Regions from separate parts of the Homo sapiens genome. Here regions 1, 2, 3, 4, 5 and 7 are each linked to region 6. The links are contacts of gene promoters, found by promoter capture Hi-C in blood cells and fetal thymus (Javierre and others, 2016). All regions are on one chromosome and are shown on one strand. The core of a region is centred on a gene start or on the middle of the fragment in contact, and the rest is flanking DNA. Distances in the headings are between cores, read along the strand shown. Region 1 overlaps CFAP54 (cilia and flagella associated protein 54). Region 2 overlaps CFAP54 (cilia and flagella associated protein 54). Region 3 overlaps CFAP54 (cilia and flagella associated protein 54). Region 4 overlaps CFAP54 (cilia and flagella associated protein 54). Region 5 has its middle 19 kb from the start of NEDD1. Region 6 holds the start of LINC02453 (long intergenic non-protein coding RNA 2453). Region 7 overlaps CFAP54 (cilia and flagella associated protein 54).

Region 1 (3,428 bases), core at 601-3,100, 1.9 Mb after region 6:
ACATGACTTCCTGGAACCTGGACAGAGCAGTCCAAAGGCATGAGCTGGTCCAAGTGTCAGGCTTGACATCTGCTACCTGAGCAACCTTGGGTACATTTCTTAACCTCCCTGAGACACCCTTTTAGGGATACAGTGGGTTTGGCAGAGGAAGGATTAAATTAATCTGTTCCTTCAACTATAAAAGAAAAGTAATCATACTACCTCATGGAGTTATTATAATAAGTGGAATAATAAATTTTAAATGCCTGGTACACAGTAGTTCTTAAATAAACGATATTCCTCCTTTTCTTATCTCAGTAAGCCATTGTGCCCACTCACTACTTGATTTGGTAGTTCAACAATTCACTCAAATATGGCATTTTGTCTTACATCCATTTTACAGATAGGAAAATTGAGACCAATTTGCCTAAAATCAGTCTCCAAGGTCAAGATCAGAATCCTGCTCACAGATTTCTACTCTTCTACATTTATATGATATTATCTAGTCATTTTCTACTTAACGAGGAGGAATAAAAAGAAATAGTCTAAAAAGAAGAGAAAATAGCCACAGAAAATAGATAATTCAAAAAGTTTCCTCAAAAAAAAATTTCCAGATACACTAAACTAATAGCCTTCTACATTTAGGGAAAGCCTAGTAGAGATTCACTTGATTTTATTAATATTTACAGAATAATGCTGAGTAAAAAGTACAACCTAAAGTCCCAAAAGCCAAGTTAATCACAGGCATTTAGTGAAACGTCTCCATGCTTTACTATCAAATATTTATAATAATATGTTTTAAAGAAAAGAACTGTCCTGAAACTAGAAACTAACCACTCTCATGAAAATTAGATTGCACTTACAAAATAGAGGTACATTAACTTGCTGAAACTTAAAAGCTTAAACTTAAGTTATAAATTAAGGAGGTTTAATAAGTGAGAAAGCTTTGCTTTAGCCTCTTAACATTATGAGACAGAATGCACATAAACCATCATAAATAAACTACAGAACTGCAAATATAGTGTCAGTAAAGAAACACAGGTCATTACTTCATGACACTACTCATTATCCCAGCAGTATAGCTCTGACTTAGTTTTATTAACTTTCAATGAAAGTTCTACCAAATTAAGCCCAAGAGTCAAACCACTCCCTGGAGAAAAATTAGGCCTTGATGAAATATTCAGTTCCTCACAATAACTCCATCACTGCAAATTAGGGAATATATTAGATTCCAAAGATACCAAAACATCAGAAAACCATGAGCCAGTATGACACGCTAAACCAATACTAGACAAATCCTAGTAATTCTCTCAATTTAATTTTCTTTGAAAAATATGCTATATAAAATGCCACTAAGATCTTATCTTATATTACTAATCAACTATTAAGAGAAAATAGAATAGAAATATGACAAAATTTAGAAAAGCCATCAGCTCTACAGTCAAGAATAGGCTTAAAATTAGATACTTGAGACCTATGTCAATGAGTCACTCTTCCTAGCATCCTCTTCACTGATGACATGTTTTAAGTCAGGCAACAACTATTTCGACAAAAAACATTAATTCATGAGTATATCCCTAACTAAAAACAATACTATTTATTCAATGCCTACTGTGTGATAATATTTGACAGGCATAATTCCATTTAATACTCATAATACCTCTGGGAAGTAGCTACTACTGCTACTCTTGCTTCACAGATGAAAATTACTTGTCCACTATCACATGGCTGTGATAGTGTGAGAAGCTGGAATTTGAACTCAGGTCTCTCTGCCTCTACTGATCCAGAAGTTTTACTTTTATAAATTTACCCTAAGAAAGTAATCATGGATGTAGGTAAAGATTTATATACAAAGTTGGGCATCATAGCTTTGTTTATAATAGCAAAAGACTGGAAAGTATCTAGATGTTTAGCAATGGAGAATTACTAACAAACTATTATATATCCATAAGATTCAATGCCATGGAACCATTAAAAATTATGTTTTGGAAGAATACTTAATGGAATACAGCAATGTCAATTATATGTTAAGTGAAAATATCAGGATGTAAAATAATATGTATACTATGATTTAAATTATATATTGTACATAAATTCATATACACGTGTGTGTGCATGTATATATATATATATATTAATTAGATAGATAAATAGGCAGATAGATACACAAAAATAAAAGGATATCTCTGGATTAGGGTTTCTCAATCTTGACACCACTGACATTTTATGCTGGATAATTCTTTGCTATGCGGGCTATCCGGTACATTGTAGGATGTTTATCAGCCTCCCTGGCCTCTACTCACTAGATGCCAGTAGCACCCCTCTAGTTTGTGACAACTGAAAATTTCTCTAGACATTGACAAAATTGCCCCAGGGTAAGAACTCTGCTACTCTGGATGATAGGATAACAGATAACATTTATTTTCTTCTTTATGCATTTCAGTGTTTTCCAGCATTTCTAAAATTAATATATATGTGTTACATTTGTAATCCAGGGGAAAAAATGTTATTGTCAAAAAGCAAATTTACTAATAAGAGAAGGAATGATTCATATTTTATGAGACAAAACTGTAGTAATGGATAATATGTGTTATAGGAGCTTTAGAATATCTGCTGTGATTTTTATTTCCATCAGAAATTACTTCATAACTGCTTAATGGAAAAAAAAACACAGTGGAAAAAATTAGCAGAAATCTTTTCTACCTGTGTCAGGAACATCCGAGCAGTAATAGTAGAAAGAGGGGGATAAACCAGAATTGGTTTAGTTGTCTCCCCAATAGCACCACCGACAAGCTTTCCGTTGTTAGAATAGGCAGCAACTGCAAATACATACTTTTCATTGGTTTCTAAACCTTTCACTTCAAAAACACTTTTACCGTCAGCTGGTATCTATTAAGAAAAATATATTTCAAGTTATACATGAAAAATTAAAATAACATGACTTTTAAAATACAATTAAGTAAACCTTCTATTAAAAAAAAACCTTTTTCTTTCATTGTTGGATTTTAGTTATGATTCAGGTGGAAATTAGAGAGATTCACCAAAACAATGACTTCATTTAAAAATTTAATTATCATTAAAGGCTTCAGTAAGATTTCCTGATGTTTAATTTGACGTACCGCTTCTCCTGAATTTGGGAGATGATTATTGTTTAGCCGTACTTTTCCATAACTTCCTTCTGCTTTGCAACCCAAAATGCAGTACCAGGAGACCTGCCGACGAGAAAAATGAGCCTGTTTAAAAGGCATTCTTTTATATCAATGTAACAAAAAAAATACTTTTCTAAATAAAAATGTAATGATTCAGGTTTTAAAACATGAAATCCAAGTTTACAAATATACTTAGGTTTAATCTTTAAAGAGTAAAAGTAACCTTAGCTAGTTTACTGAGGCAATTAAGACTAAGATATTATTCATTATTAATTATTTTAACCACCATTAATTGAACAG
Region 2 (3,673 bases), core at 162-2,661, 1.9 Mb after region 6:
TGGATCAAAATTATTTGTTAGATGGATGAATAGATTGACAGATAACAAGTAAGTGCTACATACCAGGAATCTTGAATTTCAGTATTCTACTTTCTAACCTCAAACACCTATCCTTCTAGCTCCCTCAGACCCTCATTTTCTGGTCCTTGACCTGACCTCATAAAGATGTCCAGTCTCTTGATATTTCCATAGACACCAAGTCTTTAAATGCCTTCATGCCTTCCCTCCCTACTCAATCTGTATCCACGTTTTTAAAGCCATAAACTTTTAACTCATACCTTCATTTTTTTTAAAAAAAATCTAATCCTCCACAAATGTCTGCTGTCACAAATATTCTGCTGTCATTAAGAACACCACATCAGGATAATGTCATACCACCATACGGATCAAGATGTCTAAAAATTCTTGGTCTCCAACTTCAGCTAGAACTTAGTGATGCTGGCCAGTCCCTTTACTTGGAGTCAACTCCCTCATCCATTCCTCCCCACTCTCCACATTATCTTTACTTTCCCAGTTCAATTTTCCACCCTCATGCTCCATTGATGGCAGATATCCTTGCCTCCCACTGCATCCGACAGAGGTAAGAAGGTGTATTAGTTTGTTCTCACACTGCTAATAAAGACATACCCGAGACTGGGTAATTTATAAAGAAAAGAGATTTAAAAGAGGCTCACAGTTTTGCATGGCTGGGTAGGCCTTGGGAAAGTTACAATCATGGCAGAAGAGGAAGCAAACACATCCTCTTCACATGTCAGCAGGAGAGAGAATGAGTGCCCAGTGAAGGGGCAAGCCTTTTATTAAACTATCAGATCTTGCGAGAACTAACTCACTTTCATGAGAACAGGATGGAGGAAACCTCCCCCGTGATTCAATTATCTCCACCTCGTCCCTCCCACAACACATAGGGATTATGGGAACTACAATTTAAGATGAGATTTGGGTAGGGACACAGTCAAAGCATATCAAAAGGCATCAACTCAACTCCCTGCCTTCACACCAACAAACTTTTCTTATCTACATCTGTCTGTTCCTCCTTCCCTTCTGTATCAAAAGATGAGGTGTCTGCCCTGCAGCCCACCCATCATTGAAGATGAATCCCTTTATCTGTGCTTTCAAAATCATCCTCTATAGGCCTTGGCTCTGTGTATTAACCTTTCCCTCTTATTATCTTCAATTTCTCTTTGTTCTGGCACTTCATTTTTAGCATACTATTATGCTAAATTTTCTCATTAAACCCCTTTAGCTCCATATCCCCCTCCTAGCTTTGACCTACTTTTTTCCTTCTCTTATCAGCCAAGACATAGCATTATTCTGTACATCTTCATACATCATTCACTCAGCCAATGCCAGCATACTAAGGGTCTGACTCTACCAAAAAAAATTTTTTTTAATATTCTGGCATGGTGGCATGTCTGTAGTCCCACCCACTGGAAGGCTGAGGTGGTAGGACCATTTAAACCCAGGAGTTCAAAGCTGCAGTGATCTAGGACTGCGCCACTGCATTCCAGCCTAGTTGACAGAGTGAGACCCTGTCTCAAAAAATAAACACATAAAATCAACATATAATGAATTAGCAAGAAGGCAGAAGAATTTCCAGGCCAGAGTGAGACCCGATTAAAAATATCAACAAGGGGATTGGTCCATAAATTAGCAGTATCTATCTAAGAGAGAAGGTACCTCAGCCAATGGACTTTAAGAATTTTAATTCCATTGTAAAGAATACATTAAGCTGGTAAAGTGTCACTCCAATTCTATAATTTCCCTCATTTTGAGTCCTTCTGATTTTATTTGTCTTCTCATGTAGATTGCATGAAGTTCTGATAAAAAGAGAATCTCTCATTTCAGAATTCAGAACTGGAGGTACGAATTAGTTCCCCTGGTCAGGATGAATTATATATAGTGAATCTGAAAGTTCATAATTAAATGTTAAGGGCAACACATTATTTTTAATAAAGGAAATGAATCATTCATTTTAACAGAAATTTTATGTCAGGATTAAAAGAAGAAATGAAATACTGTTACCATCAAAAGTTCCCATGAAGATGTAGAAGTTGCATCTTTCTCGAATATTAAAAGAGCTTTCTGCATTAAGTAAATTGCTTTGGATAATGTATTCTTCTTTATTTTATTCATTATATTTAATTCTATAAAAACAAACATTTTACCAAAAAGGTGAGATTAAAAACTATCTTCCAAATTTTTTGGAAATACCAGTTATCCCAATTTTAATTACCTGTAAAACAATCAGTGCTTCCAGATTGTTTTAACTTTTCCGGACCCTTGGTAGAAATATCTTTGCTAACAGTTGGAGTCTGCAAAACTGAAGAAGAAGACGACTGTCATAACAATTAAGTATGTATCCAAGAGAGGAAATATTTTTTAAATACTAAGGAGTAACTATTCATAAAGCTACTGCTTCCTCTGTCATGTCATTTTTTTCATTAATAGATAAAAATTCATATAAATCTACTATAATGCAGTTTTATCAAATCCTCTTTTATTTGCCACAGTATACCTCAGGACAGAAGAAATTCCAAATTATAAAAATATTTGATTTTCTATCTCATCTTGAATAAAGTCATCCTGAGGATTGATAGAATCCAACCTACTTCTGTTGACTTTACCTTTTCACAGAAGTACAGATGGCAAGTCCTGATACCAATACCAATAAGCTGTCAAACTCTGTCCTCAACACCCCTTCTAGAAAAACTGTTTCATCCAAGGTCCCTTTAAGAGCTCTGGGTAACACACGAAGACCTCCACTATCTTCCAGCTGTGGCTGATGAAATCAGAGCCTGTCTCAAGATTTTGAACTAAAACATGAACTTGCCAGTTGTTGATACTGGTATACAATTGGGACTGACCATCATGGTGGTTCAGTAAAGACAGGAATGTGGATGAGGGGAAAAAAGGATACAACTATATACAACTATACTAGCCCAGGGAGATGGAAACTGTAGCACTGATTCTTGATTTTCAGGTCTGGTGCTTAAGAGACCTGGTAGTATTTTGGTCCTTGGAGATATGCGAGGGTAGCTATAGTAACCTTACAATAAACCCCTTTTACTGAGTTTTAATTATTTGTGCTAATGCACATGAGCCACCATGTGATAGTAATTGATTCGTGAAAAGATGTTAACATACACCATTGAAGAATAGAAGGCATCTGCAGTGGCAAAGGGTAAGGAAACATCTGCATGGAGATAGCAATGCAGAGCAGAAAATAGTGCATCATTCTCTCAATACCAAGGATATTATAAATGCTAATTAAGCTTTCCTGATTATAATCGTTGGAGATAAGAAGGATGAGACTGCAAAAAAATTCTGAATGCCAAATACAGATGCATCATATTTATGTCATGGACATCAACAGGCAACCATTATTGAATAAGAATGCTAATGTAGGGAACATCAGTCTGGCAACAGCATGCTAAAGAAAGACAAGGTAGGGGAACAAAGTGATCAGCTGTGCTAGGATGGCAATTCAATAAAGCCAAGAAAAAATTCAAGGAAACCCAGAGATATTGCAAGGAAATAATAACTAATTCCATTTACATCTGAACTCAAGTCTTGCATCAATATCTTTAAGTGGTCTATGATCAAAACTCATTTGGTCTTCAAAGATTTATGGATGACAATTAGAGAACGAGGTATTAGGAACTCCATGAGTTTA
Region 3 (3,428 bases), core at 830-3,329, 2.0 Mb after region 6:
AGCCTATCTTAACAAATGTTCACAGTTCCAAATAATACATAATGTGCTCTCTGACCATAGTATAATTAACATAGAAATCAGTAACCAAAAGATAATTAGAAAATCTCCCATATTTTGGTTCAGAACCCATATATCAAAGAATAAATCACACTGCGTATTAGAAAATATTCTTACTCCAATAGTAATAAAGATATGATATATCAAAACTTCAGATACATAGCTAAAGCTGAATTTAGAACAAATGTCTTAATATGCATTTAATGTAAATAATAACAAATCCTAAAAATCAATGATCTAAGCTTCCAAGTCAATAAGTTTTTTAAATCAGTAAAGCAAACCCAAGAAAGTATAATAAAGGAAGTAATGAAGAGCAAAAATCAATAATATGGAAAATGGACATACAATAGGGAAGATCAACAAGGTCAAATATTGTTTCTTTGCAAAGACTAATGAAACTGGTGGACCCCTGGTGAAATTGATGAAATAAGAGAGAAAGCAAACTGACCAATACTGAAAAGAAAATCTGAAAAATTTTATATCTATGGAGGAAATTGAATTCATCATTTAAAATATTGCCATACAAAAAATTCCAGGTACAGATGGCTGCACCAGAAAATTCAACTAAACATGTAGGAAGAAATAACACCAATATGACACAAACATTTACAGATAATGGAGAAAGAGGGCATACTTCTCAACTCATTTTATGAGGCTAATATGACCTTGTGAGCGAAACCTAAAAATAACATTACAAGAAAGAAAAGTCTCTCCCTTCAACAGAGAAGCAGAAATAAGCAATCCATAAAATCAACCACATTAATAGAAATAAATGAGAAAGCCATTTGATCGACTCAGTAAATCTCAATAAATTCAGAGAAAGCTTTTGCTAAAATTAAACTATTCAAGATTAAAAACAACAACAAAAAAAAACACTTAGCAAACCAGGAATACAAGAAACATCTGTGATCTGCAAAAGGGTATCTATAAAAATTATTCTGTAGATATCTCAAATAATGGCAAAATGTTGAAAGCTTTCCAACTGAGGAAAAAAATGAGACAAAGGAGTCTGCTATCACCACTTCTTCCCATGTGTTATTGGAGATCCTAGCCAGTGCAACCATCAAGAAATGCAAGAAAAGAGAAATTAAAAGATTAAGGATTGGACAGAAATAAGTCATTCATAGATGACTGTATATACAAAACAAGTCCCCCCAAAAATCTACTAATACATTATTTGAAATATCAATTGACCTTAGCAAGGTTTCTGAATTCAAGATCAATATAAATTATATCAGCTTGGCACAGTGGCTCACACCTGTAATTCCAGCACTTTAGGAGGCTGAGATGGGTGGACTGCTTGTCCCAGGAGGTCGAGACCAGACTGGGAAACACGGTGAGACCCCGTCTCTACAAAAAATACAAAAATTAGCCAGGTGTGGTGGCATGCACCTGTAGTCCCAGCTACTTGGGAGGCTAAGAAGGGAGGATCACTTGAGCCCAGGAAGTTGATGCTGCAATGTGAGCCATGATCACGCCACTGCACTCCAGTCTGGGTGACAAAGAGAGACCTTATCTCAAAAACAAACAAACAACCAAACAAAAAAAAAAAAACAATATAAATGTTATCAGTTTCCTATGTATGGACTACCATGTTAAAATTTTTGTTACTCATGTGTATCATTCTATCATAAAACAATATCTTAACATCTTATTTACTTATCAAAAGTTCTTTTCCTGCCATAAACAATTCTGAGACAACATCATGAATCTCCACTTCATCTGTAACAATGGGTCCAGTTTGCAGTATTCGCCTATTTGAATCAGAAAGAGCTTCCAAGACAGCCAGAAACTGGGATGCAGTGCTATCAAACATCTCATCCAGTAGCCGCTCTGTGACAGTTCGTGGCCATGATAACTGAAATTGAGAAAAAAAAAAGTTCAGTCCATTTGTTAAAGCTATTATATTGTGGGCGCAGTGGCTCATGCCTATAATCCCAACACTTTGGGAGGCCAAGGCAGGAGGATTGCTTGACCCAAGGAGTTCAAGACCACCTGGGCAACACAGTGAGACCCCCATTTCAACAAAAAAATTTCAGAATTGGCCAGGCATGTTGGAATGTGCTTGTAGTCCCAGCTACTTGGGAGGCTGAGGTGGGAGGATCACCTGAGCCCAGGGAGGTAGAGGCTGCAGCAAGCTAAGGTCATGCCACTGCACTCCAGCCTGGGTGACAGAGTGAGACCCTGTCTCAGGCAAAAAAAAAAAAAAAAAAAAAAACCTGTTATAAGGCAAAGAAAAGTAAGGCATGCTTACAATGCTAAAACAGAGAGCAGTTGGTCTAACAATTAGATACCTGCTTTTATGGTTTTTTGAGATGTCACTCCAGATTTCATTAGAGATATCATGCTGCCATTACATCAAAGACTTTGTTGTTTCTTCATATGCTTGTGTTTCCAAGGCAGCATTAAAAGGTTGTTTATTATGGTTTGCTTATTAAGCAAGCATATATCTCCATATGCTTTATAGTATCTTCATTATAGCCTTCGGAACTGATATTCAAACTTTGGTTACCTAAGAATCACTCAGGGGTGCTTTGTAGATTCAAGACCAAATTTCCAGAGATTTTGTGTGTCTGGACACTTTTAATAAGTGTTTAGGACACTTTTAATAAGCACCACAGGATATTCTCATGCAGAAGGTCTTCAAGCCAAAATTTGAAACAGTATTTAGTAGTATAAATAACAAGGTTTGTGGTAATTAACTCTAAGAAAGAATTGATCAGCTTTATGCTAACAGGCTAGTGACTGTTTAGAACCTGCTGTGGGTTCCCAGTCATTCTGCTTTGTACTGGCCCAAAATGACTGCACTTCCTGCACATGCTTCCTGCCACACTTCATTCTTCTCTCCATCAAATGACCTGTTCTCTGCATTTAGTTTGCCAGTAAATAAGAACCGTAGTTTTAGTAGGCTTTTCTAGAATCCTTATCCAGCTGGAAGATTTCCTCATAATTCCCTTGCTTTTATTTCTCTTCTTAGGGCAAAGTCAGAAAGACAGAAAAACAAAAGCAGGGATAAAGTTGCCTTGAACTACTTTCCCGCAAGCACTAGCTTCCCTACTCATAAGCTTGTGTACCTTTTCAATCCATAGATCAACTGACATGTTAAAAATTTCAACAAGGGGCTGGGTGCGGCGGCTCACGCCTGTAATCCCAGCACTTTGGGAGGCCGGGTGGATCACAAGGTCAGGAGTTCGAGACCAGCCTGGCCAATATGGTGAAACCTCATCTCTACTAAAAATACACAAATTAGCCAGGCATGGTGGCGCGCGCCTGTAGTCCCAGTTACTTGGGAGGCTGAGGCAGAATAATCGCTTGAACCCAGGAGGCAGAGGTTGCAGTGAGCCAAGATCATGCCATTGCACTACAGCCTA
Region 4 (3,622 bases), core at 9-2,508, 1.8 Mb after region 6:
TTTTAATTCCTGGTGTTTCCCCTAAATAAGCTGCACCCCTACAACCTCCCCATTTCAGTTAATGACCACTTCTTTTTTGACTCCTCTCTTTTTCTCACAACTTACATCCAATATCTGTAAAACAGAATGGCTCTACCTTCAAAATTTACTCAGAATCCAAATACTTCTCATTACCTCCAGTGCTATCACACTGGTAAGAAACACCACCATATTTCTGTTATTATAATAGCCTCCTTAATTCATCTCCTTGCTTTCACACCCTTTTCCTCTTATAATCAATTCTCACACTAGCAGCAAGAGCCAACCCTTTACAATGAAAATCAGATCATGTCACTCCTCTGCTCAAAACTCCACAATGACTCCCCACTTCACTCAAAGTCAGTCTTTACCCTGGCCAAAAGGTCTTATGTAATCTCCTTGTCCACCAGTTACCTCTTTGCCGATCTCCCTTGCAACTCTGCCCCTCACTCACTCCACCCCAGCCACAAGAGGCCTGGAGGTGTCCCTCAAACATGTATCAGGCATGTCTCCATGGCCTGTAACACTTTGTCTATAGATATTTGCATGGATAATTCTCTCATTTAAGTACTTTGTTCAGATGTCACCTCATCAATGAAGCCTGCCCTGACCACCCAAAATGTGGTTCAGATGTCACGACTGATCCCAGATACACACACGTCAAGAGGGTATGAAATGGGGTACTGCTCACATAAAGAGACCTTGCAAGAAGATCAGAGCAGGTTCCCAAACAGGTGGGAAAATGTATGGAGAAAGTAAGGAAAAGAGACTGGCTTGGAGTTTTATGGTGGTTGGTGGGTGGCACTGAGGTAAGAGTTCCTGCACATGGGCCAGGACTTACATGGTTTGAACTTTCCACTAACACCAAAGGAGGGAACAGATGGGCTTTCTTATCTGCTTGCTCAGGTCAGGGGCAGAAAGAGAAGGACAGTGGTCGGGCTTGAAAGCTGTCAGCCATTGAACATCAAAATGGAGTCACACTTATTACAACCACACGATTTTAAAATGGTAACTCGTCCCCCTCCAACCTCTACTCCTTATATTCTCCATAGCACTTATCATTTTTGCCCACACTCTGTAATTTACTTGTGTTTATAGTTTATTGCCAGCATGTTTATTATCTATTAGAATATAGGGCAAGATTTTGCACAATATTGTTATATATTTTGTTTAGACTGTATATATGAGTATTGGGCCACTGATACTTGCCAGGAGCTTAGAACAGTGCCTAGCATATTGAAAGTGCACAAACTTATTTTTTAAACGAATTAATGAATGATAAGAAATGTATGCATTATTAGATGAATCACTATTGAATGTGTCAGAGGACCTCATGATAGAAGTGTTTATCACAAATGGCATGGAGAAACTCTTGAATGTGGATGTCCATATTATTAAATATGAAAAAAGCGCTGTAATATTATTTTTACTACTCTACCTGACTGCTTATATATCTGTGAGCATATGGATACAGAAATTGTATTCTATGCATCTTTATATCTTCACTGCCTAGATCAGAGCCTGGCAGTGAGAGAGTTAACAGATACTGGTTGACTAAATAAATAAATCGATGAACAAACTAAATGAAAGAGCTGACACTAACAATTGCAGCACATTTAAATAATTAGCTACCTACAACAGTTTATTAAACAGTTCAGTGCAATATGATGCAGAAACTTACTTTTTCAAAATAGGTTTGTTTTTAATATTTTAAGTCAATGTTTTAGAAAAAAAGAAAACACTCCATAGCTTTTATTCGTAAAAAGGTTTAGTCTTTTTAAAAAGTAAATTAAATGTATAAAAAAATCAAAGCATTGTTAATTTGTTCATTCTATATATGAAATTAAACAACCCAGCTGTGTGCCTTCATAAAATAATTGCTTTATTGAGAACTGTAATTTTTTTTTTTTTTGAGACAGAGTCTTGCTCTGTCATCCAGGCTGGAGTACAGAGGGGCAATCTCAGCTCACTGCAACCTCTGCCTCCCGGGCTCAAGTGATTCTCCTGCCTTAGCCTCCCGAGTAGCTGGGATTACATGTGCCGCCACAAAGCCTGGTTAATTTTCATATTTTAGTAGAGACAGGGTTTCTTCGTGTTGGCCAGCCTGGTCTCCAACTCCTGGCCTCAAGTGATCTGCCCACCTCAGCCTCCCAAAGTGCTGGGATTACAGGCATGAGCCACCACACCCAGCCAGAGCTATAATTTTAAGTGAAATCATGTATGAAAACTTCCCTGAATAATAAAAAGCAAGCATACTATGGATATAGGAATTTCTAAAACTTACATAAAATTTAAGTCTATTTAATAAACTAGGGTGAAGGAACTCTCTTCAAAGGTATCCCTCCCCTGTGCATGGAGAGACGCACCTGTATGCCGCCCGGTGCCTCTGCAGAGCAACTGCAGCCAGCTGAAGCCGGGCCTCCACCACAATCTCCAGCTCGCCAGCGGAGCACTGAGACAGGGTCTTCTGTTCCACCTCGGACAGAAGGAAGTTTAGCCTGTCCTCAGCTTCCATCAGTAACATCGACTAAGGAAAGGATACCATACATCACGTGAGTTCAGAAATAATACAAATACTGTCTCTTTCTTCTTTAGCAAATATTTTTCATGTACTGAAAAGTAACAATGAATGGAAGACCAAAAAGGAACTTGGTATCTAATTACCAGAGAAGAGAGTTCAGCAAAAAGGAAAAAGGCAACAGAAAACGAAAAGGAAAGTGAAAGCAAGCGTCAGCATGCATGACAGTGACCTTTTCTTGTGTGCACAGCTGGTGCTTACTATTCACAGTAGTTATGTTCTATAAAGTTCTTGCAAACACTGATTACTGGATACTGAGCCATTGCTCCTAGGGGAGACATGGAGAAAAGTACCCGAGAGCCTCTGGTCACAACATTTTCATTAACTGCTCAATACACAGCCTCCTTGTTTAATGTGTGTTTATGGCTAAGGATATATAACAGTATATTTAATATATACTGTTAATTTGCTAACCTTGAACTCACAGCCAATAGCACTCACTTCTGAAGGAAGCTTATCTAACACACATAGCTTCTCCATAAGGGACACCACAGCCCTCTTAACTTAGAAATGCTCCACAGCACTTCAGCACTATGCTGGAGGGTCATTGTAAATATTGACAAAAATTCAAAAAGCATGGTACTAAATAGACCGTGAAAAGGACACTTGTTTACAGTATGAGAGTGGCAACAAAAAGTCAGAGCATCTCCTTGTTCAACTCAGCTGGGAATACGTGCATTGAGCAGCTCAAATTTTTCTGTGCTCTGCGTGTGTTCACGAATAGCCAACAGAGTGCCAAGAGTGTTGATTTTCAGGCTACAAATAAATTTCAGTAGATCTGCAAATTAGCAAACACAGAATCTGTGAATAATGTGGATCAACTGTATTTCAAGTTAAAGTATGGTCACCTAGTTGGTAATGTGAAGATAATGAGATTTTTACAGTAGACAATCAATAGTAAATAGCAGCCTAACATGGCAGAAGATAAAGGGACCAACCAATCTTTCAAGTGACAGGCCACTAAAAATGTATTTGTGCAGAGCAGTGAATATTATATAAATATTAGGGCAATTCAGTATAATGTTT
Region 5 (3,263 bases), core at 518-3,017, 1.6 Mb after region 6:
AGAACCTAGCGCAAAAGTGTCTTTAGCATCTCAAGGAGACTTAAACACCATTCCTCTGGATTCCTATACCTCAATGGATGCTTTGCCTGTCGGTATCCACATTGGTTCACCCTTGGGTCAGATAGCTGTCCCATGCTTTCTAAACACAAAATAAAAGATGCTGTACATCACTTGGTCTCTAATAACATGCCACAGCTTTGATGCAACATTATGGGACTACAGTATCTAATTGGCTTGGTGTGTGCTTCCTGTCTACTCCTGTAATAAAGATCGCATTAGGTTTGCTTTATGTGTATGACTTGACTTTAAATAAGAACAGTCAAACTCATTTTAAACTAGAGAAAACCTAGGAATTATGTTAGAGGGAATAACCCTTTACGTGATGAACTAATGAATATTTTTTCTTTCTAATTTTCACGAGTCTAGACACATCTTTTGTGAAGAAAAAAAATGCTTTCTGGCTGTTAATTTGACAGCTGGAAATTTTTATTCTGGTTCACCTGGACGTTAATCACTGTTTAGCTTGTGAGGAGGGAGAGAATTGTCTCAGAGAAACTATTTTTGAAGGCTGACTAACAATGGTCTGAGTGACTCACGATGCAGGAAGGTATGCGTTAAGCAGATTGTTGAAAGAGAAAAAAAAAGTTGTTTGATATATTTCCTCCCCTCTGCCAAAGTGTAGACAAGAAAAGGGATTCTTGAGTGCTAGTAAAATTCTGTTTTTTTATCTGAGTGCTGGTTATTAAGTGATTTCAATTCTAATAAATTCATTGAGCCATGCACTCAGGATTTGTGCAATTCTCTGCACATGTTCTACTTCAGTACTTTTTAAAAACTATAGCACTCCCTCTTCACCTGGAGGATGAATAGACCTATGTGTGTATATACACACATGCACACATACATGCTTCCCCTTCATGCAAAGGTTTTATATTTCTAAAAGCACCTTTCTGTTTTAATATATATTTTTTAGTTTTAATAGAACAAGGTCTCGCTATGTTGCCCAGGCTTGTCTCAAACTCCTGGACTCAAGCAATCCTCCTGCCTCAGCTTCCCAAAGTGCTGGGATTAGTCATGAGCCACCGTGCCTAGACTTATCTTCTATTAGACTATAAATTCTCTCTTTTTCATTAGACTCTAGGGCAAATGTCTTATTTAGTCTGTTCTGTCTATTGGAACTAGCACATAGAAAATACTTCATAAATACACTCTGAATGAGTGAGCAAAAGAACATATAAATCAAGGGTTCCCAACCCCCAGGCTGTGGACCGGTATTGGTCCACGGCCTGTTAGGAACCAGGCTGCACAGTAGGAGGTGAGTGGAAGAGGAGCAAGCATTTCCACCTGAGCTCCATTTCCTGTCAGATCCATGGCATTAGATTCTCAGAGAAGCGTGAACCCAATTGTGAACTGTGCATGCGAGGAATCCAGGTTGCACACTCCTTATGAGGATCTAATGCCTGATGATCTGAGGTGGAGCAGTTTCATTCTGAGACCATCCCCACCCTGGTCCATGGAAAAATAGTCTTCCATGAAACTGGTCCCTGGTGCCAAAAACGCTGGGGCCCGCTGATATAAATGACAAAACTAAAGAAATTAGAAACAGATTTTAGTGACTCAGAATAGAAATATAGTAAATTAGTATTCTCTACATTGTAAACAACAATTATGATCATGTCTATCTTAGTTGTTAGCCAGGTTCAATAGGCAGTTTGAATTTCATAATCCTGGTTAAATATTTTTATTTTATTACTTATTTTTATTTTTATTTTATTATTATTTTTTGAGACAGAGTCTTGCTCTGTCACCCAGGCTGGAGTGCAGCATTGCAATCTCGGCTCACTGCAACCTCTGCCTCCGGGTTCAAGCAATTCTCCTGCCTCAGCCTCCAGTGTAGCCGGCTGATTTTTGTATTTTTAGTAGAGACAGGGTTTCACCATGTTGGACAGGCTGGTCTCGAACTCCTGACCTTGTGATCTGCCTGCCTCAGCCTCCCAAAGTTCTGGGATTACAGGCTTGAGCCACTGCACCCAGCCAGTAATGCTGGTTAAGTGTTAAATATAATGTTTGACCAACCAAACCAGCCTATTCTTCAATGTTACCAAATAAATATCAAGAAGAGTAAGGTCTCTATGACTTAGTGATAGACTTTAAGGAGTGTTGGAACCACACTACTGTAGGGTTAGAAGGGCTTAGTGCTGGAGTGGAGGACACAGCACAGCGTCCCCCTCCATGTAGAATCTGCACATATGCCATGAGAGAGGGACCTGACATGACATGTGTCCAGTTTAGTTAGCCTGTAAGGTTTCTTCAGTCATTGTCTTAAAATAATTGGTGCTTGTACTATTAAGGAACCAATAGAACAAGTAGAATGCTTTAAAATATTTCTAGTTAATGACCTTTACTATTGTTTTCTATTCTATTAGGTTTCAGAAAGCCCCTCTGGAATAATGTGTATTATACCATGATTTCAAAAGTGGGGTGGGGTGATAATACATTAGTTATTCATTTATGTATAACAAGTTACTCCAAACTGTAATGGCTCAAAACAACCATAAACATTTATCTCTCATAGTTTCTGTGAGTTTGAAACTTAGGAGCAATTTTGCTGAGCAAGTGAATGTTCCAAAAAGGTTAAGTCACTTGCTCAAAGTTATACTGCTAATAAGTAGTCAGGCTAGGATTTGGAACCAGTTTCTAATGACCAGCAGTGACACTGGTGGCCAGGATATCAATTAGGAAGCTATAGCAATAGCTCAAGTAAAAAATAACTTAGGGAAGTTCCAACTTACAGTACAGGTAGCAGAAGCGGAAATATTTTGGCAGTTGGTTGTGGGGCCACCCTGAGAACCAGATAACAGAGTGTCTGGCCCGAGGCACAGTGCTTTAGAAGGCTGTGTTCTGGCCACTGCTCTCCTCCCCACAGAACCAGGTCCATAGGTCTAAGGGGACTGGCCTGCCTGGAGCCCACACTCTGCCTTTTTTAAACTCAGGTACCTAAATTCCTGGAATTCCCTGCCCAGACTGCCACAGGATTCTTAGATTTTCCCTGCAGAGGCCAGACTTGCTATTTGTATACACAGCTCTGAGGCCTGAGGAGTAGCCAAGGGTGGCTGTTTGCCAAGGGTTTGGGCAGAGTTTGACATTGGGAGAATGGTGGGAGGTCCACATGCATGTGTAGGCCTCACAGTGCTGGAAGGAGCCAGTGGTAAAAAGAGAAAGAAAACAGGCCGCAACTGGGGGCCGTCTCTCCTCATGTAGCC
Region 6 (3,639 bases), core at 195-2,694:
AGTCAAAAGTGGTGACTAGTCATCACTCGCATAATCGGTGAAAACATAAAAGGCGCCCAGTCCAACAGCTTTTCCCACATTCCTCCCCGCCACCCACCTCCAGAAGGAGTCTTGCTTGGTCACCCAGGCTCACTGCAACCTCCGCCTCCCGGGTTCAATCAATTCTTCTGCCTCAGCCTCCGGAGTAGCTGGGATTACAGGTGCACCCCACCATGCCCAGCTAATTTTTGTATTTTCAGTAGAAATGGGGTTTCACCATGTTGGTCAGGCTGGTCTTGAACTCCTGACCTCGTGATCCACCCACTTTGGCCTTCCAAAGTGCTAGGATTACAGGTGTAAGCCACTGAGCCTGGCAGTCACACATTCTTTCAACTGTTTGTTTCCACCTTTATTATAAAGTATTTATAAAGAGGGATCCAGAGTCCCTCACCTGGTTCAGAATCTTGGGTGACCCTTGGCAGGTCACTAACCCTGTGAGCCACAGCCACATTTGTAAAAGTGGGATAATAGTCACACATTGTGAGGTTGTTCACAGTGTTGGCACATGGTAAGGGCTAAGACACTTGATTAGCATAATATTCAAAATTAGAAATTGTACACTATTGTACTCTCTTTCAAAAGGCAAACAGCCTAAAACTGTTTGGAAAAAACAGCTTGTACAGTATATTGTACACTTCCTGTGATAGACTAGTGGACTGATACACCCACTAATGCACAGCAGTAATAGTCCACCTCTTTACACATTATGCATGTTAAGTGACAAAAAAACTCACTTTAAAAGGCCAAATGATAAAAACATCAGCCTTGAGGCTCTTCGATATAGAGTAAATCATATCTTCCTGCAAACCAAGGATTAGTATCATAATACCTGAAAGAGGAAAACTTAATTCTAACATTCAAGAAAATTGGCGGCAGGAATACACCTCGGCTTCTAGTAGTCGGTAGTTTAAAATACAGGAGGAAAAAAAAAAAGTTTGACCCCGACGTGATTCGAACACGCAGCCTTCTGATCTGGAGTCAGACGCGCTACCGTTGCGCCACGAGGTCCTGCTGGGCTGTGGCTCGCGCAGTTTCTTAGGACACCAGTAAATGGCGTTTCTTCCAGGGGTACCAGTCTTTCTCTTCCATTTACTCTCTGCCCCTCCACCCAGTATCTGTCGGACCAGGAGACCGATTCCTTCAGCGTCCAAACTTTCCTGACTGCTAGTCCTCTAACCAAGGCTGGGACGTAACCAGCGGAAGCGGGAGAACGGGGCTTCCCGTTTAGTCGGGTCTCCAGGATCAAAGGAAATTGGCCCTTCCTTTTCTTTACCAAATGATTTCCGTTCTTACCCGCCCTGCCCCCGCCCCGTTAGTCGCGAGACTCCGCCCTCTCTCCCCTCCCCCAACAGGTTCCGCGCGCTGAGTTCGCGACCTCGAGTTGTAATCTGGCGGGGCGCCACTAAGCCGGCGCAGGCCTTCGCAAGATGGCGGCTGGAGGCAAGGGCAGAGGCCTTCAGAGCGTTTTCTTTTTCCCTTTCCTCCCTTCCTGCAAACAATGTAAGGCATTTTCTCTCAGGGGAGGCTTTCACTTCATGGTGGGCATTAAGGTTAAAAGTCACCATTTTGAAGACAGGGTTGTGCACTTAAGGGAGCTGGTTTAGCATATTATGTTTAACAGCAGTGTCCTGTCATTGAATGATACAGAAAATAATAACTGTCGCCAAAAAAGTGCAGCTACACACCTCCCCGTCGGGGAATTGAACCCCGGTCTCCCGCGTGACAGGCGGGGATACTAACCACTATACTAACGAGGAGTCGTTAGGCTGTGTATTTTCTCAGACAGCCCTTCAAGGAGCAGTAAGATCCTTCCAGCGCTCCGTAACCTTCCGCCTGCCCCCGGGAAGTACGAAAGTCCGGTCTCTTGGAGCCGCTGCTTAGGCTTATTGTCCTCTCTGGGCGCTTTGTATTCTTGATGTTGGTGGGAAGAATAAAAGGTGTGGAATATGTGAAGGAAACGCGCTTCCCATGTTAGTGCTAGAGAAGTGTGTGAAAATAGTTTTTCCGAGGCTCTTGACGCGTTCTAAATGATTTAGGTTGCCGTCCTGAGTTTTTTTTTTTTAACTGACCACTGGTATGTGACTTGCGGCTGAGCCTTCCCCTTACAAATTTATACTTTCACTCTGAAGTTCAAGTTCAAGGATAGCATATGGCTGCCAGATGTCGGGGACAGTTAGGGTTGCCACGGTCTCGTGCCTCTTCAAACAATTCATAAGTCTTTTTTTTTTGAGAGGAAGTCTCGCTCTGTCCCCTAGGCTGGAGTGCAGTGTTGCGATCTGGGCTCACTACAACCTCCACCTCCAAGGCTCAAGTGATTCTCCCGCCTCAGCCTCTCGAGTGGCTGGGATTACAGGCGCGCACCACCATGCCTGGCTAATTTTTGTATTTTACTAGAGACGCGGGGTGTGTGTGTGTGTGTGGGGGGGGGGAGGGTTCACCATGTTGGCCAGACTGGTCTCGAACTCGTGACCTTTAGTGATCCACCTGCCTCGGCCTCCCAAAGTGCTGGGATTTACAGGCGTGAGCCACCGCGCCCGGCCAATTCACACACTTTTGTAACACAAAAGCGCCCAATGAAATGACCAGCTGCGGGCAAATGAAATTTTATCAAAATTTTATCAGCCGACTTCTGTTTCGCTCTCTGTAGGTGGCTACAGTTTAACTGGAAGTGACAAACGTAAGTATGTGAATGGCTAAATAATAATGCGTTTAAATAATTCAAAACCAGGATGTGCCACTGATTAAACATATGGGTTAGGAAAGTGCACTAATCGGATAATTTGATAATTTGTGTCATCCTAAACCCGTTCATAGACAGGATGAACCCTCTTCCCAGGGATACTAAGAGAGCCTTATATGTAAACTTTTTTTTTTGAGACGGAGTTTCACTCTTGTTGCCCAGGCTGGAGTGCAGTGGTGCGATCTTGGCTCACTACCACCTCCGTCCCCCGGGTTCAAGCGATTCTCCTGTCTCAGCCTCCCGAGTAGCTGGGATTACAGGTGCCCACAAACACGCCCGTTCAATTTGTGTTTCTAGTAGAGATGGTAATTCACCACGTTGGTCAGGCTGGTCTCGAACTCCTGACCTAAGGTGATCCACCCACCTCGGCCTCCCAAAGTGCTGGGATTACAGGCGTGAGCCACCGCGCCTGGCTATAAACTTTTGATTTTCTCTAAAGGAGTGTGTTTATAGGCACAGATAAACTGACATGATTGAAAGCGTTTCATTATAGAACTTAAACTTACGTGTCTCGTCTCCGACCCAACCAATCAGGACTCCCAACTCACTGACCCCTACCCAACAAATTATCCTTAAAGATAATAAAAATAACAACAACAACAACAACAACAACAAAAACCCCACATATGTGTCTTAAGGAATCCCTTGTTTCTAGTGTGCTACGAATTAATGTATTATCCATCATAAATTATAAGGTATTTTTCATCTGATGGAAGGGATAATTTTTTTAATGCAGATATTAAACAAATGGCAGTTTCTGAGGCTTGTTTTGGCTTTTCTTTCTTTTTTGCTCTCATTATTATTATTATTATTTGAGACGGAGTCTTGCTCTGTCGCCCAGGCAGGAGTGCAGTGGCACG
Region 7 (3,421 bases), core at 469-2,968, 1.9 Mb after region 6:
AGACCTGAAACCATAAAAACCCTAGAAGAAAACTGGCAATACCATTCAGGACATAGGCATGGGCAAAGACTTCATGACTAAAACACCAAAAGCAATGGCAACAAAAGCCAAAATAGAAAAATGGAATCTAATTAAAGAACTTCTGCACAGCAAAAGAAACTATCATCAGAGCGAACAGGCAACCTACAGAATGGGAGAAAATTTTTGCAATCTATCCATCTGACAAAGGGCTAATATCTAGAATCTACAAAGAACTTAAACAAATTTACAAGAAAAAAACAAACAACCCCAAAAAGTGGGCAAAGGATATGAACAGACACTTCTTAAAAGAAGACATTTATGCAGCCAACAGACACATGGAAAAATGCTCATCATCACTGGTCATCAGAGAAATGCAAATCAAAACCACAATGAGATACCATCTCACACCAGTTAGAATGGCGATCATTAAAAAGTCAGGAAACAGCAGATCCTGGAGAAGGTGTGGAGAAATACAACGTTTTTACACTGTTGATGGGAGTGTAAATTAGTTCAACCATTGTGGAAGACAGTGTGGCAATTCCTCAAGGATCTAGAACTAGAAATACCATTTGACCCAGTGATCCCATTATTGGGTATATATCCAAAGGATTCGAAATCATTCTGCTATAAAGACACATGCACATGTATGTTTATTGTGGCACTATTCACGATAGCAAACACTTGGAACCAACCCAAATGTCCATCAATAATAGACTGGATAAAGAACATGTGGCACATATACACCATGGAATACTATGCAGCCATAAAAAAGGATGAGTTCATGTCCTTTGCAGGGACATGGATGAAGCTGGAAACCATCATTCTCAGCAAAATATCACAAGGACAGAAAACCAAACACCATATGGTCTCACTCATAAGTGGGAGCTGAACAATGAGAACACATTGACACAGGAAGGGGAACATCACACATCAGGGCTTATTGGGGGGTGGGGGGCTGGGGGAGGGATAGTATTAGGAGAAATACCTAATGTAAATGATGAGTTGATGGGTGCAGCAAACCAACATGGCATATGTATACCTATGTAACAAACCTGCACGTTGTGCACATGTAGCCTAGAACTTAAAGTATAATAATAAATATATAGATAGATATACTAATGCTATTTCAATAACATCAAGTTTTAGTTTGTGAAGCACCACAGTTTCATCAAAAAGTTCAACAACAGATTGCTATTCTATAATGTTTGGCCTCTACATTTGCTTTTGATCTAAAAATGCTTTTAGGGTGCCATTTTTAAAAGTGTTCTTATTGTGATTAAAAGTAGACTTTCCAAATCATCATCGCTCCTAAATATTATAATACTAGATAAAGAATGAGATAAATACCTTTGTTATGTAGAAAATACAACAAGCTATCATGTGTTGTATACTTTCAAAGCTCGCAGTATGTTTCTTCGAGCAGACAATACTTGGTAGTCCTTGCAAAACCACTATACACTTTATCAGGATCTAAAAATTAGAATCACAATGATTTTTGTTTTAAAATGTCATCCTTACTCATTTCATTAGAAAATGTTCCATTCAAATAATGCAAGCTTTAAGACATAAAATTTTGTTATCAATAATTATTGATAAATTGTTTATTAGGAATAAAGGAGAGTACACTGAGATAAAGTTGATACATTCAATTTTGAGATTAGTCCTTCACCTACAGCAACTTGAAAATCAGTGGAAAGAATAAAATAAAACACAAATGACTATAAAACAAAGCATATTTTGATAAGTATCATAAAAGGTATAGTCAGAATGTGACATGTATTTGAAAAACTATCACATCCAGGTATAGAAGGAACTTGAAAAACCAAATGGAAGCTTATATGGCATATTAAATATTACATAGTGATTCCAGGTACTTGAAATAATAGTTTCCTTTAAAATTAAAACCAAACATTCATATCTCAGGAAATCAACTAATATTGGTACTTACTTCCTATTCTCCTTGCTTCGTATTATATGATCTTAAATTTGATCAAGAGCTAGACGAATAGCTTTTCAAAGGTAGTGTGAGATTGCATCAATCATTCACCATTTAGATTAACCCAAAGGACAAATTAATATATGAATGTTGGTTCTTTGGGGGCACATTAATTGCTTCAAGCTCTCATTCTAACAATACTGTTACTATTGTTACAGTACACTCATCTCTAAGACTTTTTAAATTCCTCCCCACCCTAATCAGCCTCTCCCATGCTACCATATCATATCCCTAAATCATGTGAACACCCTAGTAGTTTTGGAGTTTTCCCGAAGCTCATATAAATATAAATACATACATGTGTATAAAAACATAATGTACCTAGGAGGGTTGTTGTTTTACAAAATGGGATTTATAAATACTTTTCTGAAGTGTGTATTTTTTCCTTCAACCATATCTTTGGTTGTGAACATTTCTCACCAGACATGGTTTTTGGACAACCATGTCTGGTGAGAAATGCTGTAAGTCTACAGGTATAGCTCTAATTCATTGTTTGTTTCTAATGGCTGCATAATATTATTTGGTGTGGATCAGCCATTATTTACTCAGCCTTTTCTAGGACTTCATGGTACACATTTTCATGGTTGTACAATCTGGGGGTACTGTTACTTCTCTTTGTCACCAGCTTTTTTGCCAACACCAAGAATGTCACAGTAAATACCCTTTTACATGCTCAGTTGCCAACTATGATTAGCAATCAAGATGCCGGCTTTGAGATGATACCCAGTGAAGATGAGATACCATCCTCCAGAACACAGTATACATTCTAAACCAATGACAGTACATAACACTGTGTCCCAGTAGGTTCCTCAGGTCCAGGAACCAAGAGGTGGAACTAGGAGTGACATTATTTCAAATGGAGGTTTTATTCTATAAGATAAATTACTAACAGAAGAATTGTTGTGTCAGATAAATGTATTTTTAATTTTATTAAAATTTTATTCTACAGGATAAATTACTAGCAGAGGGACTACCGTGTCAGGTATATTTGTTTTTAATCTTGCTTAAAATTAGATTTAATTTAATTTAAATTAAAATTACTTTACCAAAATTCAAATGCTTGTAACAATTCACATTTCCCCCATGTATGAATGAGAATGCAATTGCCCCACATCTTCACCAGCAAATCTTTTCAATCCTGCCAGTGATATTACATTGTTAATTTAATGTGAATTTCTATGAGTATTTAGAATTTGAGCATCTTTTCATATGTTTCTCACTCACTTGGATTTGCTCTCCTGTGAACTGCTTATTCATATCCTGTGCCTATTTTTCTATTAGGTTATTGTCAGTTTGTAAGACTTTTTGTTATACATGTATATATACTTGCCCTCTGTCGCATTTGGAGATATTTTTTTTCCAAATCTGTAAATGTTCTTCTATCTTTGTTATAGTCCTTTTTGT

What was found. Contacts are between HindIII fragments. The CHiCAGO score rates a contact against its expected background, and 5 or more counts as called.
Region 1: a fragment that was not itself captured here is called in contact with the fragment with the promoter of LINC02453 in region 6 in 4 of 17 cell types (naive CD8 T cells, non-activated CD4 T cells, total CD4 T cells and 1 more); the score reaches 16.6 in naive CD8 T cells.
Region 2: a fragment that was not itself captured here is called in contact with the fragment with the promoter of LINC02453 in region 6 in 2 of 17 cell types (naive CD8 T cells and total B cells); the score reaches 7.7 in naive CD8 T cells.
Region 3: a fragment that was not itself captured here is called in contact with the fragment with the promoter of LINC02453 in region 6 in 5 of 17 cell types (naive CD8 T cells, non-activated CD4 T cells, M0 macrophages and 2 more); the score reaches 7.8 in naive CD8 T cells.
Region 4: a fragment that was not itself captured here is called in contact with the fragment with the promoter of LINC02453 in region 6 in 3 of 17 cell types (non-activated CD4 T cells, naive CD8 T cells and total CD8 T cells); the score reaches 8.2 in non-activated CD4 T cells.
Region 5: a fragment that was not itself captured here is called in contact with the fragment with the promoter of LINC02453 in region 6 in 1 of 17 cell types (total CD4 T cells); the score reaches 6.7 in total CD4 T cells.
Region 7: a fragment that was not itself captured here is called in contact with the fragment with the promoter of LINC02453 in region 6 in 1 of 17 cell types (total CD4 T cells); the score reaches 9.8 in total CD4 T cells.

The regions. Positions count from the first base shown.
Region 1 is chr12:96,580,360-96,583,787 of GRCh38, reverse strand. It overlaps CFAP54 (cilia and flagella associated protein 54), which reads right to left. Exons shown (of 68, transcript NM_001306084.2): 21 at 3,099-3,191; 22 at 2,683-2,868. Among named protein-coding and RNA genes, the nearest start is that of CFAP54, 92 kb to the right of the region's middle. The HindIII fragment of the contact is 1,849 bases long and covers 926-2,774 here.
Region 2 is chr12:96,563,115-96,566,787 of GRCh38, reverse strand. It overlaps CFAP54 (cilia and flagella associated protein 54), which reads right to left. Exons shown (of 68, transcript NM_001306084.2): 18 at 2,234-2,320; 19 at 2,023-2,144. Among named protein-coding and RNA genes, the nearest start is that of CFAP54, 75 kb to the right of the region's middle. The HindIII fragment of the contact is 3,726 bases long and covers 1-3,274 here.
Region 3 is chr12:96,525,733-96,529,160 of GRCh38, reverse strand. It overlaps CFAP54 (cilia and flagella associated protein 54), which reads right to left. Exons shown (of 68, transcript NM_001306084.2): 9 at 1,717-1,915. Among named protein-coding and RNA genes, the nearest start is that of CFAP54, 38 kb to the right of the region's middle. The HindIII fragment of the contact is 2,091 bases long and covers 1,034-3,124 here.
Region 4 is chr12:96,719,328-96,722,949 of GRCh38, reverse strand. CFAP54 (cilia and flagella associated protein 54) reads right to left here. Exons shown (of 68, transcript NM_001306084.2): 50 at 2,385-2,545. Among named protein-coding and RNA genes, the nearest start is that of NEDD1, 190 kb to the left of the region's middle. RefSeq lists enhancers at 2,505-2,614, 2,635-2,814. The HindIII fragment of the contact is 3,587 bases long and covers 1-3,051 here.
Region 5 is chr12:96,887,064-96,890,326 of GRCh38, reverse strand. No RefSeq gene overlaps it. Among named protein-coding and RNA genes, the nearest start is that of NEDD1, 19 kb to the left of the region's middle. The HindIII fragment of the contact is 3,834 bases long and covers 1-3,263 here.
Region 6 is chr12:98,501,660-98,505,298 of GRCh38, reverse strand. LINC02453 (long intergenic non-protein coding RNA 2453) reads left to right here and starts at 1,444. Exons shown (of 4, transcript NR_038383.1): 1 at 1,444-1,539; 2 at 2,687-2,716. It overlaps TRD-GTC1-1 (tRNA-Asp (anticodon GTC) 1-1), which reads right to left and starts at 1,796; the gene lies at 1,725-1,796. It overlaps TRW-CCA4-1 (tRNA-Trp (anticodon CCA) 4-1), which reads right to left and starts at 1,047; the gene lies at 976-1,047. RefSeq lists enhancers at 1,087-1,386, 1,397-1,706. The HindIII fragment of the contact is 12,452 bases long and covers 1-3,639 here.
Region 7 is chr12:96,596,715-96,600,135 of GRCh38, reverse strand. It overlaps CFAP54 (cilia and flagella associated protein 54), which reads right to left. Exons shown (of 68, transcript NM_001306084.2): 26 at 1,369-1,491. Among named protein-coding and RNA genes, the nearest start is that of CFAP54, 110 kb to the right of the region's middle. The HindIII fragment of the contact is 277 bases long and covers 1,580-1,856 here.